4 separate regions of the Homo sapiens genome follow, and regions 1, 2 and 4 are each linked to region 3. Evidence: promoter capture Hi-C in 16 types of primary human blood cells and fetal thymus (Javierre and others, 2016). All regions are on one chromosome and are shown on one strand. The core of a region is centred on a gene start or on the middle of the fragment in contact, and the rest is flanking DNA. Distances in the headings are between cores, read along the strand shown.

Region 1 (2,700 bases), core at 104-2,603, 370 kb before region 3:
ATGCAGTGAGTTTAAGACTTTCCAAGAGCTTACAAATCAGTCAGCCTTTGTTCATCCCTTAGCGGATGTGTGGTGGTATTGTGGACCTTTACCGGAAGCTCTGCCAAATAACTGGAGTGGCACTTGTGCTTTAGTACAATTGGCTATCCTTTTCACCCTGGCATTTCATCAATCGGAGGAAGGAAAAATAAGACATTGTAAAGCAAGAGAAGCCACTTACGGGTCTTTCGACTCACATCTATTTAAATGCAATTGGAATCCCATGGGGAATACCAGATCAATTTAAAACCTGAAATCAAAGAGCTGCAGGATTTGAGTCAATATTTTGGTGGGGGACAATTAATAAAAATGTAGATTGGATAAACTACATCTACTACAACCAACAGCAATTTATTAACTACACTAGAGTTGCTGTTAAAGGAATAGCTGAGCAATTAGAGGCTACTAGCCAGATGGCTTGGGAAAATAGGATAGCCTTAGACATATTAGCAGAATGAAGAGGAATTTGCATCATGATTAAAACTCAATGTTGTACCTTCATCCCAAACAACACCGCCCCTGATGGAAGTACAACAAAGGCATTGCAAGGTCTGACTGCTGTGTCCAATGAGTTAGCCAACAACTCAGGGGTAAATGACCCCTTTATAGGAGGGCTAGAAAAGTGGTTCAGTAAATGGAAAAGGATAATAGCCTCAATTCTTACTTCCCTCACAGCCGTAATGGGTGTACTTATTCTTGTCGGGTGCTGTGTCACACCATGCATCCATGGGTTGGTGCAGAGGCTCATAAAAATGGCACTCACTAAAACCTCCCTTAACTATCCTCCACCTTATCCAGAGAAGCTTCTTCCTTTGGAAAATCAAGCAAAACAACTAAGCCGAGACATGTTAAAGAATTTTGAAGAGAAAAAACTGTAAGGAAATATAAGAGGAGGGGTTGTTAGATATGAGTTCTAAATTTCTCTTCAAAGAATCAGTATGTCAGTATGTTCGTATGTTCAATTCTTTGCCTTCTACTTTTAACTTCCTCGTAAAGCAACCTTTTTCGATTACCTGCTCCACCCTGACTCATTCCAATTACCTGCTCCACCCTGACTCATTCCGATTACTTCCTCTGCCATAACCATTTTCCCCACCAAACCACTCACCCTGTCACTCTCTTTAAATTAGCCAGTCGGAATTAGTTTAGCCTGTGCGTTCTAACCCTAGCCAATAGAGGAACGACACAGCAGCAGGGGCCACATGCGTCAGGGATAAGAACCCCTTTCCCTCCCTTGTCCAAGTGTGTGCTCACCATTGCTCCATCTGTAAGGGTGCACCCTTCTATAGAAGTACATTGCCTTGCTGAGAATTAAAAAGAACATTTTATATTCGAGTGCTATTTCTTTTGTGGCACCAAAACTTTATTTATAACTAGGGGTTTCACCATGTTGGCCAGGCTGGTCTCAAACTCCTGACCTCAAGTGTTCTGCCCGCCTTGGCCTCCCAAAGTGCCGGGATTACACACGTAAGCCACTGTACCTGGCTGGCATTGGTAGTTTTTAAGAGCTTCCAAAAAGATTTATCGAAAAGTCTCATCAAGTTATAAGTAGCAGAGCTGGGGAAAAAACACACTTTTTTTCCCTGACCTTTTATATTACCTGAGCTATATTTATTACACCACTTCTCTGTTTTTGAAAATTCACCTTTCTACAGTAGCAGTCATTAATTGTTGCCTTTTTATTGGAGAGCTAGGCTTCTCATTTATTCTTTTTCAGATGATATTGTACACATCATGACACCTTTCTGAAACCACCTTTGCAAAATTATGACCGAGACAGTGAAACAGATCTAACCTAACTAACTCTATCTTGCTTTTAAGCTTTAAGCTGTCCTTGTTCATTCCCGGGGTAGGCTGAACTAACTTTGGGAGAAACTTGCTTTATGGTTTGTAGTTTAAAACAAAGACAATAACAACCCTTTCCTAAAGCAGACCTCCTTCTTGCCTGGGGACTAGATTCACTTTGTAGGACTAACATTAGCCACAATATTAGAAATTATGGTTTAGGAGTCATGCAGCTGGAGGCTACAAGATTCTGACCCTCCCTAAACTCCTCCTAAGATCAGTGCTTGAGATATTTTGCTGACCCTGCACTTGATGGATCAGCTGGCACCACCCAGATTGATAAACTGGCTCATCTGATCTTGTGTCCCCCACCCAGGAACTGACTCAGTGCAAGAGGACAGCTTCAGTTCCCTATGGTCTTGTTTCCTAACTGACCAGTCAGCACTCCTGGCTCACTGGCTTCCCCCCACCCACCAAGTTGTCAGTAAAAACTCTGCTTCCCTGAATGCTTGGGGAGACTGATTTGAGTAATAATAAAACTCCGGTCTCCCACACAGCCGGCTCTGTGTGAATTACTCTTCCTCCATTGCAATTCCCCTGTCTTGATAAACTGGCTCTGTCTAGGCTGTGGGCAAGGTGAAACCACTGGGTAGTTACATTCCTCCTTCATGAAAAACACATTCCATTTCTTCCACAACCACCTTTTGATTCTGCACCATGTCTAATATTTTTTGTATAGTATTTTCTTTGTTTCTAGTCAGTTAATCTTCTGTGACTCCGTAGCCTTCTACAATGAGACATTAATTTACTTGACATGTATTAATTGGAGACCAACTGTATACATGGCACATGATCAGGAGATATGTGTGAATAAAA
Region 2 (2,700 bases), core at 198-2,697, 500 kb before region 3:
TTCAGGGACTTTAGGGAAGAGATGAGCATTCTGGGCACAGGGGATGATGTGGGGAAATTGTACAGAGGTGGGAAGTGAATTGCAGTGGTAAGACCTGAGTACTAAGAGATGTTAAATCTGGTCTAGCTTTCAGATTAGAAAATTGATATTAGACCCTTAAATGATATAATATACCTTCCAACAGTTAATCTACATAATTTTTACTACCATCCAATTTTCCTGTCATTTAGAAATGCAATAATTTTATCACTGGGGTCCTTAGGTAAATGTGGACACAATGGTGACCCAGTGAGGACTCAATGCGCAGCTAATATTGCTCTGCCTTGAAGTCCTCTTCTGGCCGACATTCATTAGCAGCTTTATCATGAAGCAAATTCTTTTTTCATGTATATTGTGTGGAGATCATTTTTGCAGGTGATGAGAATGTAAAGGTGAATGATACGTAGAGTATCCGCTCTGTGATGCTGACAGACACACTGGGTAGAAAGACTTGCACTCAAGTGTCTATAGTATGAGGCAAAAGACATAGACTGCAGCCCCAGGGCAGGTACCTGGCTAAACAGTGCCTCTTTTCAGCATATACAGTGCTATTTATAATGTTTGGTTTGGAAGGTAAAGTTTGACATTGGAATAGTTCACTAAAAGTTTTCATTACTGTCTTATCTTTAAAAATCACATGATGTTGGTTGGTGCACTGTGTCTCCGTTGCTGTGTGGTATCAATTAGAGCTGGGTAAAGCTGCCTCTGTGGAAGGGGCTCTAGCTCGGGGCTGTTCTCTGACTCCATCTCTGCCTCCTGACTTTCATCCTGTCTGTTCAGTAATGACACCTGCCTGGCTTCTGGAGACATCTGTGCTTATGACGCATCAGACTTGTTGCAGTGTCTTAAGAAATAACTCAGACCATACATAACCTGCCCAATTTGCAACCATATTCATCCTTTAAAATTGTGGTTTTTTTTTTTTTTTTGAGATGGAGTCTTGCTGTTGTTGCCCAGGCTGGAGTGCAGTGGCGCGATCTTGGGTCATTGCAACCTCTGCCTCCCGAGTTCTCCTGCCTCAGCATCTCGATTAGCTGGGATTACAGGCACCCTTCACAATGCCCGGCTAAATTTTGTACTTTTGGTAGAGACAGGGTTTCACCATGTTGGCCAGGCTGGTCTCAAACTCCTGACCTCAAGTGATCCGCCCCCCTGGACTTCCCAAAGTGCTGGGATTATAGGCATGAGCCACCACTCCTGATCACTAAAATTGTATTGAGAACATGCTCATAAGATTTTTCTGATTCTCCCTTGTGTAGATTTCCTGTGTACATTTCCAACTACTTTCATTTGCCTGCAGAACTTTAGAAAAGATCTACTTTGATATTTACGAGCTTTGGGAGAAGACTGTTTTATATGAAGCAGGAATAATAAAGTATAAGCCAACGGTAAACAAAATTCTCTGTGACTTCAGCATGATTTTGTCTTGAACAGACACAAGCCACTTCTCCCGGGTTCTTTATTAGCATAACTTGTCTTGCAGCCTAATTTAACGACACATTTTCAGACCCAATGCACACTTCCACTCAGAGGAATAGTCAGAATTATGCCCCAGTATTAAGTCATTTTTTGGAAACCGATGAACATTGTAAAATATTGTCCCAGACAAAGACTTCTCCATTTATGGTAAAAACCACTGTTGAGTACACTGCATTGATCAATGACTTTTTGCATAGCATTTATGTGCAAAAATATAATGTTTAACACTTGCAATTTCTTCAGCCCCAGGGTACCCTTGCAATATTTGCTCTTAACCTGCTGACAGGGAGGTACCAAACCATAGATACCTTCCTGCACACAGATTTCCCTAATGCAGCAGTGGCTATCTATGGGAAAGACAATGCACACTATTTATTAGGTTGGTGCCAAAGTAATTGCAATTTTTGCCATTAAAAGTAATACAAGATTGTCATAATAATATGGTGCAGGTTAAATTGCACCAAATTGAGTAATATTTTACTTACCTAATTTCTAAAGATATTTGGTGTACTGAGCTCTTCCTGGTCTCTTAAACCTCAGAAAGGTGGCCCTAGGCCTTCCCTCTTATGTGGGGCCTCCTGCATGTCTCCTCTGAAAGCCATTGAATAAGTAGATCTGACCCCTTCGATTAAGTTTCTGGCATGAAAGAGGAAAGAAGTAAGCCTTCTCCTTTTTCCTCAACTATAACAAGTCCTTTACTTCTCTGGAAAGGGAAGAAATGGGAATAGAGCCCCGATGGAATTATGGAGAGGTGTGTCTTAGGAGGGATGAAATAAAGTGTGTTTCCTAAGAAACTGGAAAATTGCATTCGTGTCCCATTGCATATTTTTAAAATCTTTCTTTCTTTCTTTTTCTTTTTCTTTCTTTCTTTCTTTCTTTCTTTCTTTCTTTCTTTCTTTCTTTCTTTCTTCCTTCCTTCCTTCCTTCCTTCCTTCCTTCCTTCCTTTCTTTCTTTCTTTCTTTCTTTCTTTCTTTCTTTCATTCTTTCCTTCTTTCTTTCTTTCTCTTTCAGATGGAGTCTCACTCTGTCACCCACGCTGTAGTGCAGTGGCAAGATCTCAGCTCACTGCAACCTCTGCCTACCGGGTTCAAATGATTCTCCTTTCTCAGCCTCCCGAGTAGCTGGGATTACAGGCGTGCACCACCACGTCCAGCTAATTTTTCTATGTTTGTAGAGATAGG
Region 3 (2,700 bases), core at 78-2,577:
TACTAAAAAATGTCTCTTTCCCTCAAATTCCACTCACATCTAATCCTTTCTTCTTAATCCAGGCTCGAAGCCCATCCACATTCCAAGAGCAGATCTTGAGTGTGGCAGGTTTGCCACTGGGTGAGGTTTTCTGATCTGGGGGGTCCTCATACAGGGCTGGGCCCTCTCCTGCTGCCTCTTTGTCATTTTTCTTTGCGGCCGTCTTACTCTTCTTGGCCTCTGGCTCTATAAAATGAGTAATATATACTGACAAAAAGCTGGTGGTTTCCAACTGCGATCCGGCGTTAACTATAGACCCAACGAAAGCCTACGGTTCCTGCGACTTCTTCACAAACCCCTGCAAAAATGAGTCGGCCCGTACTTACCGTACATCAAGGGAATGACAAACACCCCCGCCGCAGCTTCTAGGAAGAAGGGCTGATTTCATTCCCTTACCTGTCCTGAGCTCATCCCCGTCTTCCGCCACCGCTCCCTTTTTCCCACGCTTCGGCATTCCCGTTACGAACGCCCTTGGGCAGCTGTACCGCGTCACCCACCGAAGCAATATTTTTACCGCGTTGCCTACAGACGCAAAGAAATCATGAAACCAGCTAAGGCTGGGGAGAAGACTCCTCCCAAGAGCGTCCCCGCACCAGGTCCCGCCTTTCAAACCACGTTATCTCTAAATCCTTTCCCCGCCTCCGTGCATCATAGGCCCTTCAGCCCCTCACCCACGAAACTAGATCATTTCATAGTGCCTTGTACCCTACTCGCGAGATCTGCCCTCCAGCCAATTGAGGATCTTAATTAAGGGTCCTGACTCAAGCTTGCCGTTCAGACTGCCAGCGAAGCCCCTCTTATGAGCAAAAGAGCAACCCCGTATCTGCACCGGCCCGATGGCAGCCTAGCTCCTCCTAACCCGAGCACAAAGAAGGGTGCACGCTGAGCCCCCACGTGGGTAGCGGACCTGGTCACGTGATCAGAGGCGCGCTTGTCGTGGCCGAAGAATGCGCGTGATTGGTCTGTCTGACACCACGTGACGGAGACGCTTAGCCTCGCCTCCCTCCTCTAATTCTCTAGGACACTTAGGTCCCCAACCCTCCCTCGGGCTGTTTATCGTTGTGCCAGATGCACAGCACATTGTGTGACACTGACTTAAGATTCTAACTATGTGCAAGAGGGAAAAAAACAGTGGAGAAGGCTGGGCTGGACCACGGGAAAGAGATAGGAAAACGGATACGAATGTAAGGCACAGAGTTGGCTCGGCGTCCCTGGCAGTTAGGAAGACAGGTCCCTGGAGGGGCCTTGGCGGGTCTCCGCTCGCGGGAGTTCCGCGGTGTCTTTCCCAGTGCTATCTGCAGGCTGGCCAGCTTCCTCTGCGCTCCGGAAAGCTGCGGCCCAGCGCGGACTAGTGAGGACCTCCACAGCTCCTGACATTGCCAGGAGTCCTGTCGGCGTTTTCTCCCAGCCTCCGCCATGCCGGCGGTGCTGGGTTTTGAAGGCAGCGCCAATAAGATTGGCGTGGGCGTGGTGCGGGATGGCAAGGTGCTGGCGAACCCGCGGCGGACTTACGTCACGCCTCCTGGCACAGGTTGGTGAGTAGGGGACTTAAGAGTTTTCCGCGCACTTCCCCGCACAGAATCAGCCTTCCATCTTCCTAAATACTAGTGAGGTGCAGCTTTCGATCCGAGTCTCATTGAAATTATGTGACATTATTAACGTCACAAGGCTGATGACTAGAAGAGTTACAGGCACTTGGACGTGGATCTGATGAGTTCATTTACCTTTTACTGAGCGCATTTTATGTGCTAAGTATTCAGAAATAGATGTTATACTGCTGTGGAGTCAGACATATAAATAGATGTTTATACTACAGCATGATAAACAGTATAATAGAGATGGACTCGAAATATTCTGTTTAAAAAACGCTTAGCAGGAGTATAGATTCCAGTTGCCCTGAATATACACTCCCTTTTTAAAAAAAAATTATTTTTTGAAATATTCTAGGATGAGTAGAGAGATGAGAGTGGAAAGACTCCCGGCTTACATGTCAGACAGAACTGGCTGGCTTTGCTATATTCATATTAAATATTTTTGTTTTGGACATTTGGTCTTTATTTTTTATTTTATTTTATTTTTTTGAGACAGAGTCTTGCTCTGTCGCCCAGGCTGGAATGCAGTGGCACGATCTCGGCTCACTGCAATCTCTGCCTTCCAGGTTCAAGCGATTCTTCTACCCCAGCCTCCCAAGTAGCTAGGACTATAGGTGTGCGCCACCACATCCAGCTAAATTTTGTATTTTTAGTAGAGTCGGGGTTTCCACCAGGCCAAGCTGGTCTCGAACTCCTGACCTCAGATGATCCGCCCACCCCAGCCTCCCAAAGTGTGGAAATTACAGGCATGAGCCACCGCTCGGGCCTGGTCTTTGTTTTTAAAATGGGAATAATACCTGTATCATTAGGTCTTGAAGATTAGATGAAAGTACCAAACACGGCTGGGCGTGGTGGCTCACGCCTGTAATCCCAGCACTTTGGGAGGCCAAGGCAGGCAGATCACCTGAGGTCGGGGTTCGAGACCAGCCTGACCAACATGGAGAAACCATGTTTCCACTAAAAAATACAAAAAATTAACTGGGCGTGGTGGCGCATGCCTGTAAACCCAGCTACTTGGGAGGCTGAGGCAGGAGAATTGCGTGAACCCGGGAGACAGAGGTTGCAGTGA
Region 4 (2,700 bases), core at 33-2,532, 420 kb before region 3:
TTGCACGCAGGCTCCTGCGTCTTTCTTACAGCCTGTTCCCCACCAACCCCATGTGCCCTACCCCTGCCACAGTGTCAGGGCTTTTGGTGGAGGATAAGGCTGCAGTGGAGGGTTGGTGGGAGGGAGCCTGAATTACGGAAATAATACTCGGGAAAAGACTTGCTCCAACCAAGCTGCTAGACAATCCCCTTCTCCTGGGGCTGATCTTCCCACCAGCTGCTCTCATAAAACCTCCTGATGGCTGGCCCTAGGTTTCCTGGATCATAGGGTCCTTCTGCCTTCTGCGGGACATTCTATGCCTTTCTCCTCAATGGGCTCCTTCGGAGGGTATTAGGGACGATACCCTGGCGGGAAACCGCTTCCTTTAGGGAAACAAATCACTGTGGCTCCAGGGGTGTCACCGGAAAAAGCCGTTTCCGGAGAAGCCGGAGGAGCTTGGGCAACTCCGCAGGCCCAGAGCCTTCGTGGTCTCCCAGTTCCCGTGGCCGTCGTATTGGTCGGCAGGGGGCGCCGCGCCACAAGCTTCCTGCACAAGAGTCCAAAACTTCTTTCTTGGTTTCCTTTGAGACAGGCTGCAGGTTTCTTGGTTGCTGACACGGGTAGACGATAATAGGTGAATAAACAAAATCCAGCCAGCATAAATACAGTCTAACTGTTGAAGAACAGATTTCTGAGTCTACCATAACTTTCATACACTGCAGCACTTTAACGTTGAACCTGCCACCTTCAGATTCACACTGCAGCACCTCAGGTAAGAAGGAAAGGAAGTGAATATGCACTGAGGACCTACTTGTGTTATGAGCTTTACAGTTCAGCTGCGCTGGAGAAGAGTTTATTTCTTTCATGGAATCCATTACATCACCGATCCCCTTCTGAAGGAGGTTATTTTATCCACGAGAGGAAGCATCCAAAGGTGTTCATATTCTCTACCCTGTGACTCCAGCAGAATGGTGACAAGGTTTTGAAGCAAAGGAGGGCACTTGACTCTAGGGCAGCCGTCCATTAACTGACTAGCCCGGTGCCTGTGGAACAGAGTTGCGTGAGGATTTTACCCTTTTGGAATAATCCAGTGACAAAACTGGATACTATTACTTTCATTCCTTCCCCCGATGCCAGGAGGTATAGCTGTTTTGCCTTTGTTCTTGACATTCAGCACTTAGCCTAATGCTCGCTATAAAAGTGCCTTCAAGAAATCTTTAAGGGGCCATTTTGGTAGGTCTGGTTGTTGCTGTGGATCTTTTGTAGATGCCCATTTTTAGATTAGAAAAGTTTCTTCCCTTCTGCTCCTGTTTATGTCTCTTGAATGGATTGGGAATTTCGTTGAATGATGGGATTATACAGCATATTTCTTTAATCAGTTAATGGGGTGAATTAGATTAGTTGATTTTAGAATACTAAACCAACCTTGTATTCCTGGGATAAACCCATTTTGGTTATGTGATATAATCTTTTTTATATATGACTAAATTTAATTTGCTAATATTTTGTTAAATTTTTTTTGCATTTATGTTCACGAATGAGATTGGTCTGTAATTTTTTGTATTGCCTTGTTTAATTTTGGTATCTAGGTTATATGTTAGCTTCCAGAAATGAATTGGGGAGTAGTCCTTCTTTATTTTGTAACTGGAATTATATGTTATTTTAATACTTGGTAGAACTCACATGTAAGGCTGTTTGGTCCTGATATTTTCTTATTTTCTTTGAGACTGCTTTTTCTTTTTTCTTTTCCTTTTTTTTTTTTTTTGGAGATGGGTCTTCCTATGTTGCCCAGGCTAGTGTGCAGTGGCTATTCACAGGTGCAATCACAGAGCATACCTCGAATTACTGGTCTCAACTGATCCTTGAACACTCGGTCTCAGGTGCCTCAAACTCCTGGGCTTGAACTCCTGATCTCGAATAATCCTGCTGCCTCAGCCTCCAGAGTAGCTGGGTCTACAGGTACACACCACCAGGCTTAGCCTCAAACTATTTTAAACTTCTGTTTCAATTTCCTTAATGGTTAAAGAGATGCTAACTTTTCCATTTCTTCTTGAGAAAGCTTTGGTAGATTGTTTTTTCCCACGTAGGAATTTATCCATTTCGTCTAAAGTTCCCAAATATATTAGCACAAAGTTATTCATAATCTGTTTAATATTTATAGCATTGATTTTATGTCCTATTTTTATTCTGACTTTTTTGTACCTTTTTTATTGATAAAACTTTTGAGGTGTGTCTCTCTTATTAGACAGAGATTTTTTCAGACATGCAGAAGCGAGTACTTATAAACTCATGTAGAAACTTTTTTAGAATGGGTCCGTCTTTTTTTTTGAGATTGAGTCTCACTCAGTCACCCAGGCTGGAGTGCAGTGGCACAATCTCGGTTCACTGCAACCTTCGGTTCCTGGGTTCAAGCAACTCTCCTTCCTCAGCCTCCTGAGTAGCTGGGATTACAGGCATGCGCCACCACACCCAGCTAATTTTTGTATTTTTAGTAGAGACAGGGTTTCACCATGTTGGCCAGGCTGGTCTTGAATTCCTTACCTCAGGTGATCTGCCCTCCTCAGCCTCCCAAAGTGCTGGGATTACAGGTGTGAGCCACCGTGCCTGGCCAGGTCCACCTCTTGAGCCACACAGATCTGCTTCCCCAGACAGGTTCAAGAGACAACTCCTCCAGGCTTCCTACCAGTCTCTGTTCCTGAAGGGAAACTTAAGAGGAAGTTT

Evidence for each region. Contacts are between HindIII fragments. The CHiCAGO score rates a contact against its expected background, and 5 or more counts as called.
Region 1: a fragment that was not itself captured here is called in contact with the fragment with the promoter of OSGEP in region 3 in 1 of 17 cell types (M0 macrophages); the score reaches 5.6 in M0 macrophages.
Region 2: a contact is called between a fragment that was not itself captured here and the fragment with the promoter of OSGEP in region 3, in 1 of 17 cell types (fetal thymus). The highest score is 5.3, in fetal thymus.
Region 4: a contact is called between a fragment that was not itself captured here and the fragment with the promoter of OSGEP in region 3, in 1 of 17 cell types (total B cells). The highest score is 5.1, in total B cells.

The regions. Positions count from the first base shown.
Region 1 is chr14:20,821,430-20,824,129 of GRCh38, reverse strand. No RefSeq gene overlaps it. Among named protein-coding and RNA genes, the nearest start is that of RNASE1, 20 kb to the right of the region's middle. RefSeq lists an enhancer at 2,106-2,400. The HindIII fragment of the contact is 1,018 bases long and covers 845-1,862 here.
Region 2 is chr14:20,951,650-20,954,349 of GRCh38, reverse strand. No RefSeq gene overlaps it. Among named protein-coding and RNA genes, the nearest start is that of RNASE2, 2.5 kb to the left of the region's middle. The HindIII fragment of the contact is 7,527 bases long and covers 1-2,700 here.
Region 3 is chr14:20,453,439-20,456,138 of GRCh38, reverse strand. OSGEP (O-sialoglycoprotein endopeptidase) reads left to right here and starts at 1,327. Exons shown (of 11, transcript NM_017807.4): 1 at 1,327-1,570. The coding sequence starts at 1,456. APEX1 (apurinic/apyrimidinic endodeoxyribonuclease 1) reads right to left here and starts at 913. Exons shown (of 5, transcript NM_001641.4): 1 at 745-913; 2 at 436-561; 3 at 38-225. The coding sequence starts at 493. RefSeq lists enhancers at 650-869, 1,290-1,379, cis regulatory regions at 931-936, 952-957, 970-1,002, 1,013-1,018, 1,015-1,056 and 2 more, promoters at 804-1,138, 803-1,340, 970-1,414 and a silencer at 2,677-2,700. The HindIII fragment of the contact is 3,687 bases long and covers 808-2,700 here.
Region 4 is chr14:20,871,610-20,874,309 of GRCh38, reverse strand. It overlaps LOC100507513 (a long non-coding RNA gene), which reads left to right. Exons shown (of 4, transcript XR_110261.4): 3 at 1-751. Among named protein-coding and RNA genes, the nearest start is that of RNASE3, 18 kb to the left of the region's middle. RefSeq lists enhancers at 259-308, 419-518. The HindIII fragment of the contact is 1,516 bases long and covers 525-2,040 here.